Linked DNA regions of Homo sapiens: regions 1 and 3 are each linked to region 2. The links are contacts of gene promoters, found by promoter capture Hi-C in blood cells and fetal thymus (Javierre and others, 2016). All regions are on one chromosome and are shown on one strand. Each heading gives the region's core, a stretch centred on a gene start or on the middle of the fragment in contact. The rest is flanking DNA. Distances are from core to core; before and after follow the strand shown. Region 1 holds the start of SYNGR1 (synaptogyrin 1). Region 2 holds the start of CBX6 (chromobox 6). Region 3 holds the start of PDGFB (platelet derived growth factor subunit B).

Region 1 (3,174 bases), core at 649-3,148, 480 kb after region 2:
ATGCTGGGCATCTTTTTATGTGCTGAGTTGCCGTGTGTATATCTTCTTTGGTGAGGTGTATAACTATTCAAATCTTTTGCCCATTTTTTAAAAAGTGGGTCCTCTTATTATTATTGAGTTCGAACGTTCTTTATTTGGGATGCAAGTTCTTTAGATCTATGCTTTGCAAATATTTTCTCCCAGACTATCGTTTGTCTTTTCATACATTCTTTTAACAATGTCTTTTAAAGAACAGAAGTTCTTAATTTTGATAAAGTCCAGTTTATCAATTGTTTCTTTTATGAATCATGTTCTTCATGATTTTTTTTTTTTTTTTTTTTTTTTGAGACGGAGTCTCGCTCTGTTGCCAGGCTGGAGTGCTGTGGCGCGATCTCGGCTCACTGCAACCTCCACCTCCTGGGTTCAAGTGATTCTCCTGCCTCAGCCTCCCAAGTAGCTGGGACTACAGGAGCTCGCCACCACGCCCGGCTAATTTTTGTATTTTTAGTAGAGACCGGGTTCACCATGTTGGCCAGGATGGTCTCAATCACTTGACCTTGTGATCCATCCACCTTGGCCTCCCAAGGTGCTGGGATTACAGGCGTGAACCACTGCGCCCGGCCTTCTCTTGTGCTTTCTTCTAAAAGTTTTATATAGTCATAGTAGACACCTTATAAGTGTGCTGGATTAAATGTGAAAATGTATGTAAAGCCCTTAGCACAAGGCCTGGTAGAGACTAAACAATCAGCTGAGCCTAAGATGGACATTGACTATGTAATTTTTATAAGGAGCACCCTCAGGCCCAGCACACATTTCCTCCACACAGATGTTGTGTCCTGTCATCACAGAATGGCAGGATACCAGAGAAGCAAAAGCCTCCACCCATATCCTCATCCAACCTGCTCCTGGAACCAGTGAAGGTGACTGCAGACATAGAGAGGCCATAGAGCTACAGGGCAGCAGGAGAGCCAGCCCTGGAAGGTGGCCCTTCCCCTGCAGGGAGCACTCCTCCATCTAGCCTCCGTTTCCATGAAACCTGGAGGTCTAGCCCAAGCTGTGATGGGGTGATGGGGACTAGGCTCTGTTTACTGAGCACCTACTGTATGCTAGGCCCTTGGGTAAGGCATTGAATAAGTTAGACAACACCTGGGCCTCGGGAGCTCACAGACTAGCAGCAGAAGAGGCCATGAACAAATGATTGCGTAATTAATTGCTAGATTCAGGAAAGGGGCAACGTTCTGGGGTAGGAGGGGATGGGGAAGAGGAAGTCTCAGCCGCCGCCTCTGTGCCAGGCCCCTCCAGGCTGGGGGTGGGAGGGTGCGCGGGCACAGGGACACACATGACGTCATCGTAAGAGGCAGGGGAAGGGTGGTCCTGGGAGGTGGGGGCTGCTCTGGAGGGCTGTAAGAGAGGGTCATTCACTCGTGGTTCATTCATTCGAGAAATATTCATGCGGCGCCTACTGCGTACCAAGCACCCTCTAAGAAGGACGAACACAGCTCCTGCCCTCTCATTATATTTGGGGCCGACAAAGTGGCAGGAAACAGCCAAACAAATCAAGCGTGAAGATGGTTTCAGCAGAGCCGACGGCTCAGAGGGGCTGCGACCGGGGCAGGGGACCGGGGATGCGGGGCAGGGACACGGCCCACACTTGCTGTGCACGCACCGCCCTCCCCCAAACACTTTGCAAAGAGGTCACCGCACTGGCTGCGAGCGCGCCCTGAGCCCCGGGCCGCAGCACGCGCGCCCCCGCGCCCGAGGTCGCGCGCTGCCCAGCCCCCCGCCCGCGCCCCGCGAGCTGCGCCCGCCGCGCACGACGCCCCCTCGCGGGAGCCCTGGGCCGCCGGCCGCGCGCGCAGGGGAGGGGGCGGGGGCGCCGCGCACGCGCACGGGCCGGCGGCGCGCGCCGAGCGGGGGGCACCGCGCGGGTGCAGCCACGATGGAAGGGGGTGCGTACGGAGCGGGCAAAGCCGGGGGCGCCTTCGACCCCTACACCCTGGTCCGGCAGCCGCACACCATCCTGCGCGTCGTGTCTTGGGTAAGGACGGACTGGCCGACGGCTCTGCCAGGCCGGGGTGGTGGGGGTGTGAGCAAAGGCGGCGCGCCCGGACCGACCCCGACCCCGACCCCAACGGGCCCCCGGCGGCGGCGCGGCGGCGGGCGAGGAGCTGTCCTGCCTGCGGGGCCCGCTGCCGCCGCTCCTCCTTCCCGGGCCCGGGGCGGGCGGGATCCCTGGTGCTCGCGGGAGACGCCGCTCCGGCTCCCGGAGCCCTGGTTTCCTGGGGCCCCCGGTTCGTGCGCCCCCCTTCCCGCCCCGATTGCTGTGACCTCCAGGCCGCGGCTATGCCGCGAAAGGCTCGGATTGTGCGCGGCCGCCAGGGCGGACTGGGGACCGTGGGGACGGAGCCAGGGTTTAAGGTGGCCTTTTTTGGGGGGTGGATCAGGGCGTGGACCATCTCGGTGGGGTGCATGCCGCGCCTGCGATGGACGTTGGAGGAGGAGAGGGCCGGGAACCGGGTTCGTATTGCCTAGCCCGGCCCGTGTGGAGCGATGAGTCGGGAACTGAGTACCTCTCTTCCACCCGGGAACTGCCTCTCCTTCTCTGCGTGACCTTGGGCTGGGAGCCACCCAGGAAATGTTCTCGAGAAATGAGGACTTCAATTCCGAGGTGGGGAGTGTCATCTCCTCTCTCATGCCTCAGTTTCCCAATTTATAGACAAGGTGGGCGGAGCCTTCTTGAGGCCCCCTTGGGCTCTGACATTTCATGAACCGGTAACACCCCTCCCACTCAGCATGCACCTGGATGCCCAAGGCGGGTGTCTGGGAGAAAGGTCTGCTCCCACAGTGAAGAGGCCAGGGTGGCCTCCAGCCTAGCTGGGGGGCAGGGTCCTCAGTGCAGAGGGCTGAGTGGGCTCTTGTTCAGACGGGTGGTCAGGGAGAGGATGGGTCAGAGACAGTGAGCACAGAGGGAGGGGTTCAGGTGCCTTGAGTGGCACCTCATGGAAAGAAGCCCTGCTGGGGTCTGGAGAGGGGGTTTCTGGGGCTCCCTGGGTTTGGCTGGCTGTATCCCAGAAACTCCCACTCGAGGTTCTGGCCTCTGCAGGCCTGGGGCCCGTTCCTTGTGGGCTTAGACTAGGAATGGGCTAGACTGTCAGGGACCCCAGGGGCTACCCCAAGGCCAGCTGTGACCTCAGG
Region 2 (2,874 bases), core at 20-2,519:
TTCAAAGTAAAATGATTTGAGGTCAAATTCAAGTTGGATCCCCAAGAAAGGAGGGGAGCCATGAAGAACAAATCCTGAAAGACTGAACGGGGGAAGCTGGGGGCAGGGAGGCAGGTGGTCCCCCAAATCCTCTCCTTGTGCCCTGCCAGGAGGTGGGACCCCACTCACTCTCCCCCTGGGTTCCAACTCCCAGCACAGTCATAACAGCTCAAACAAATGCCCCCTTCCCATGGGCATCCCCCACCTGCCTCAGCCACCCCCTTTCCTGGAGCCCTAAAGGCATCCCCAGCCCCTGGTTTCAACAGGGAGGATTATCCCCAGTCCCAAAACCCTCTTGTTGAAGCTGATGCTGGCTGAGGCCTGCCATCAGGGGCTTCTGGGGGGGCTCACAACCACCCCCTGCCCAGCTGGGGCCCCTCTGAAAAGGCCGGCCCGCTTGGGCGGCCGCGTATCTGTCCCTCCCTTCCAGGCCCCGTGCTGTGCCGGGGCTGGGGGCCCGAGAGGGGGATGCTGCTGGGGCTGGGCCAGGTTACCTTCAGGAGGAAAGTTTTGGGTTTGGGTCCCCTCTTCTTGGGCCCATACAGCTCACGCTCCCTCTCCCTGCGGCCGAAAAACACCAGAGGTTAAAAAGAGCCCCTTCCCGGGCCCCACTCCGCGCTGCCCTCCCCGGCTCTCCCGCTTCCCCGCGCGGCGCCCCAGCCGAGCCTCGGCCTCGCAGCCCCTGCCAGCTTCCCCAACAACTCACTTTTGTTCGAAGGCTGCAATGAGCCGCGAGTCCAGGATGTTCTCCTCGGGCTCCCAAGTGCTGTACCTGCCGAGTCACAAACGCACAAAATCAGGATGAAGACCAGAGAGGGACAGGCACGCGGCGAGAGCAAGAGCGCGCACCCCCACCCCAGGCCCCGGTGCCCGCTGCCTCCCCTCCCGCGACGCCCCCGGACCCCGCGACACTCACTTGATCGCCCACCCCTTCCATTTCACCAGGTACTCGATGCGTCCCTGAAAAACAGAGGGGAGAAAAACGGGGGTGGGGGTGGGGAGGATGCGGGGACGCGAGGAGGCGGCGGCGCGGGGCTGGGCGAGGGAGCCGGGCTAGCGGGACCGCTTCGCCCCGAGGGCCCCCGGCCCCGGCCCCGGCTGCGGACAGCGGCGGCCCGCCCCGGGCGGCGGCTCACCTTTCGGATCCGCCGTTTGATGATGGATTCGGCCGCGAAGACCCGCTCGCCCACTGCAGACAGCTCCATCTTGCTCAGCGGCACCCACAGCCCATAATACTCCCTGCGCCCGCGGCCGGTGCGGCACCGCTCGCGCACGCGCCGCAGCGCCCAGGCCCCGGCGGGCGGGAGCGCGGCGGGGCGCGCGCTCGCGTTCCAGCTGCGGGCCGTCACGTGATCCTCGCGGCTGGCGCGCGGTTGCCAGGACCTCCCCCTCCCCCGGGGCGGTTGCTAGGGAAAGTCGGCGCTCGCGGGGCGGGGGCGCGCGCTGGCTCTTAAAGGGGCCGCGCGGGCGGAGGGAGCAATTGCCGGCCGACCCGATGGGTGCCCGGCTTGTGGGCACGCTGCGGCCTTACGCTTATCACCCCCCCTCACATCTTGCCGGCGCCCGATCGCTGACACCCTCTCCTTGCCTCTTAATCCCCACGCGAGTCTCGCCAGGCCCCGGGCGGAGAAGGGCTGTGGAGCCCGAGTCTCGCCGCCACCGCGCATCTCCCGCAGCAGCCTGCAAACAGTTAAATATGATGCAGCAGAAATGCAGTTGCTGTTGCCTTGCCAGGCCTTGCGGGAATTTCTTTAAAACATCGCCCCCCACCCATTATTTATGTATTCGTGGGAGGGTGGTTTTGTAACCAGTTCAGAAGAGTTAAAACAAAAACGCCACCGCAGGAAGGGGGTGTGCGGCGAATGGGGCCGAGGAAGGCCGGAGTGACCGTGGGCATCTGTCTGCGGCCGGGGTCTCGGGCGGCACCTGTCCTCGCCCAGGAGACCGGGGAGGATTCGGCGGGGCCGGTGTGGCAGTGGGGGAGGGAGAGGGACCGCGGGCAGGAACGGGCTCCCCGCACTCCGCCTTGGGCCCACAGCGGGTCATCATCTGGTCATTCGGCAGAAACCGCCTTCGCGGTCATATCTGTGTTTTCCGATTCCCAGCACCCCTCCCGGCCCCCCGACCTGGCCGCGTCCCTCTCCCCGCCCGCAGCTGCGCGAAGCTTCCGCCATTGCTCTGGGGAGCCCAGATCCCAGCTTCCCACTTGAGGAGGGGCGGGGGATCGAGCTGGGGCTGTCCAGGAACGGACACACAAAAAATAGCCCTGCCGCGCAAAACGCTCCACTTTTTAAATGTTGAAATTACTTGAACTTTATTTCCCATTATGTTAGTAGTCTTGTTCTTTGTAAAACAATTTTAAAAATACAGATAAAACAACTGTCCATAACCCCCATAAAACCATTGTTAACATCTTCACCAATCTTCCAGCCTCTGCTCTATGCGTACATAAACTCACGTACACCTATGTATGTATGTATATACATACACATACACATTGTCTGTAGATTTAATTTTTTAACAAAATGGGATCACGCTATTCACACTGTTCTGGAATCTGCTTTTCTCCCTTAATGCTATAAAGTGGACATCTTTCAGTGTCATTAAATACAGATTTCACCATCCTTCCAGTGACCACCTTGGGGCTGAGATGGGGTGGGGAGGAATGGGGATTGTGAAGAGTCAGGGTTGTGTCTTGCGAACATCAATGGCTCATTAGGAAAGATTTTTGCGTTTCTGTGCTACAATGCCAATTCTTGGGTTTCAAATCCACCATAGCAAAATGTTAGTCTTTTTCTCCCAGCAGATTTGTCCAATTATTACCTTGAGAGAAAT
Region 3 (3,102 bases), core at 1-2,500, 370 kb after region 2:
CTGTCACCCCCGGACCTCGCTCCCAGCCCGAAGAGGTCACCCAGCGCCCGGCGTCAGGCTCGCGGGCTGCAAGGGTCCAAAGTTCACTGCAGGGAGAGGAGGGGGCGGTCAGAAGGGGGGGGCGAAGGTAATGAATGAAGAACCAGCCCCAGCCGCCGTGGCAACTCACCTCGGCGCTGACCAGACGCAGGTAGCAGCAGAGAGACAGGAAGAGCGCCCAGCAGCGATTCATGCCGACTCCGGGCCCGGCCCCGCGGGGCCCCGGACGCGTAGATCGAGCGCGCCGCCCCCGCGGCCAGGGTGGGGGGCTGGGGAGGGGGGTGGGCTCGGCTCGGGTCCGCGGCGATCAGGCGCTCAGGCCTCTGCAGCCGCGGCTCACCCGCATGGCCCCCGGGCGCCGCCGCCCCCGGCCCCGGCTCCGTCGCTGGGGGGCAGGGGAGGACCTGGGCGCAGGACCTGGGTCCGAGGCCGCTACCTGGGCGGATCCCGAGCCCGAGTGAGCATCCACGGCCGGGGGGCTGCGTCGCGAACCAGCCGAGGCGTCTAGCCGTGTGGGGGCGCCCAGGGGACTCCAACCTCCAAGAGGAAAAGGAACACGGCAGTCGATGGTTCGTCTTCACTCGCCGGCTACAGGCGTTTTCCTCTGCCCGCCGGCTTAGCTTTTTTGCAACATTTTCTGGAAAGGCCCCCAAAATCGGAAAGCGCGGAGCTGGGCACCTCAAGGCCCAAGTCTCCCCCAAAAAACTTTTTCCAAAGTTGGCTTTGCAACGGCAGCTCGAGCACCCGGGCAGGGAGAGGTGCAAACTCCCGCCCGGGCCGGGTAGGGGGGCGGGAGCGTGTGCGCCCTGGCGCGGGGCCCGGGCGGCGGGCACGGCTGCTCCGCGCGCGCGGCGTGCCCGCTGCGCGCTCGGCTGGGCCCGGCCGACAGGTGGACGCGGCGCGAGTCCGTCGGTCCGTCTGCCCGCCCGCTCGCCGCTCTGGGCGTCCTCTGCGGGCTGCGGGCTGCGAGCTGCGAGCTGCGAGCTGCGGCTGCTCCGGTTTTCTCTTTGCAGCGAGGCTGGAGGGTGGGCTTTTTTTTTTTTTTTTCCTTTTTGCGCGCGTATGTATGTGTGTGCGCGCAAAGTATCTCTATCTAGGGAATGAAAAATGGGCGCTGGCGGCCGGAGGGGAGCCCTAGGGAGGCAGCGGGGGAGGCTGCGGGTGCGCAGGGAGGCAGGCAGGCCGCTCCCGGCTGCAGGAGGAGAAGTTGCCACCCTTTCAGCTGTTCCGGCCTTTATAAAGGAGAAGGGAGAGTGCGAGAGGTGGGTGGAGACAGCCTTTCCTCTTCTGGCCCGGAGTCAGCGCCAGGAGGGGGGGGACGCGGGAGCTGGGGGAGGGCTTGGGGCCAGGGCGGGGCGCTTAGGGGGTCTCTGAGAGCCGAGCAACCCTTCAGTCCATGAATCTGGCCCTGGGGAAAAAAGAACTAGGGGTGACCCACCGTCCCGCCCCTCAGCACAGTGACCATGGACAGGTTAGGAGCCCACGTGGTCTAGGGGGATGTCTCCAGAGCCAAGGCCAGGAGTCCACGCTCCCCTCCAGGACCAGACATTTCCACCCTGGCACAGGCATGGCAGGGAGGGACTCAGGCTCTGCAGTCTGAGAGCCTGAATTCAGATCCTGCCCTGGCACTCGGGAGCTTGGGTCACCTTGGGCAAGTCACTTCCCTCTGTCCCCTCCATCTAGCCTCAACCTGGAGATGGGGCTATTGTAAGGACTCAGTGTTAGCAAGGGAAGACACCGCAAGGTGAACCCACAGAACCCGGCAGCCAGCGCCCTTCAGCTGCAAGCTGGGTCCGAGTCTCCTCCTCCTAGCTGGTTGCCTGGCACAACAGGCCCTGCCAGCGTTGGCTGAATTTGAATTTGTTGAACTGCAAAGTCACACAAACCCCCACAGCCCTGCAGCATCTTCGCAGGGCTACCAACATGATCTTCCCGTCAGTCACCCTGCTGTTTACTATCTCCCTCAGCCCCCGGGTTCGAGGCCCAGAGCCCACCCACCCACAACCAGCCTTCACACAGTTAACGCCTTCTGCCCCCAGTCAGGGAGCTGCTGTGTCCCTGCCTTCAGCAGTCACACTGTCTCAGTCACAGTCACACGTACTCACACTGGGCCCAGCACCCCCCTCGGGACACGCAGGCTCCTGCATCACCCAGCCTCCCGGCTTTGAGGCACCCTCATCTCCTCCGCTTGCACTGTCTCTGTTATCCGCCCTTCCCTTTGGGATGTCAGCCTGCTTCTCACAGAGGAGCACACTGAGAGAGTCACACCTGCTCTCTCTTCATAGACTGTCTTCTTGGACCTGGACAGGGTGGAACAGAGGAGGAAGGACATCTCAGGTGGTCTTTACAGACCACTGCAGGCACCCACCCACTGCTGCCTACCACCCAGCAGCGTGGCACAGTGGCAGAGACACAGCCTGAAGACACATCACCTTGGTCCAAATCCTGGAGTGGCCACTTGCTGGACAAGTGTCTGCAGGAAGGTTTTTTAACCTCTCAGTACCTCGGTTTCCTCCTTTATAAACTGGAGATGAATTTATAAACTGGAGCTGGGTGTGGTAACAAGCTCCTGTAGTCCCAGCTACTCAGGAGACTGTGGATCGTTTTGAGCCCAGGAGTTTGAGGCTGCAGTGAGTTGTGACTGTGCCACTGCACTCCAGCCTGGGCAACAGAGCAAGACCCTATCTCTAAAGAAATAAAAATAAATCTATAATGGGAAGGAGTGAGAGAGAACAGAGAGGCATGGCAAAATTTTAGTGGTGATGGAAATGTTTGTCATTTTTGATTGTGGTGATGGGCTTATGGGTGTATACGTACATCACAACAAAATGTGTGCAGTTTGTTGTACCTCAGTGCAGTTGTAGAGAATTTTTACCCTGCTCCTGGAGTGGTCTGGAGGCTCCCATGAGGTCCTCCATGTGGAGGCGCTCAGCAAAACACCTTAGCAGGAAGCAAGCGCCTGGAACCTTCCATGCAGCCTTCAAGTTCACTGGTGGCCCCGCACTGCTCCAGGCACTGGGGAGACAGGTGTGAACCAGCCTAATGCAGGCCCCTGCCTTTGAA

The links. The method cuts DNA at HindIII sites, captures the fragments that hold promoters and counts their contacts. A CHiCAGO score of 5 or more calls a contact.
Region 1: the fragment with the promoter of SYNGR1 here is called in contact with the fragment with the promoter of CBX6 in region 2 in 7 of 17 cell types (neutrophils, total CD4 T cells, total B cells and 4 more); the score reaches 10.6 in neutrophils.
Region 3: a contact is called between the fragment with the promoter of PDGFB here and the fragment with the promoter of CBX6 in region 2, in 1 of 17 cell types (erythroblasts). The highest score is 5.6, in erythroblasts.

What each region holds. Positions count from the first base shown.
Region 1 is chr22:39,348,093-39,351,266 of GRCh38, forward strand. It overlaps SYNGR1 (synaptogyrin 1), which reads left to right and starts at 1,899. Exons shown (of 4, transcript NM_004711.5): 1 at 1,899-2,017. The coding sequence starts at 1,919. RefSeq lists a silencer at 1,946-2,105. The HindIII fragment of the contact is 7,483 bases long and covers 1-3,174 here.
Region 2 is chr22:38,870,947-38,873,820 of GRCh38, forward strand. CBX6 (chromobox 6) reads right to left here and starts at 1,270. Exons shown (of 5, transcript NM_014292.5): 1 at 1,176-1,270; 2 at 956-999; 3 at 746-811; 4 at 534-600. The coding sequence starts at 1,244. RefSeq lists silencers at 892-941, 1,042-1,191, 1,222-1,481 and enhancers at 1,476-2,026, 2,027-2,576, 2,413-2,874. The HindIII fragment of the contact is 16,779 bases long and covers 1-2,201 here.
Region 3 is chr22:39,243,732-39,246,833 of GRCh38, forward strand. PDGFB (platelet derived growth factor subunit B) reads right to left here and starts at 1,251. Exons shown (of 7, transcript NM_002608.4): 1 at 170-1,251. The coding sequence starts at 232. The HindIII fragment of the contact is 5,201 bases long and covers 1-3,102 here.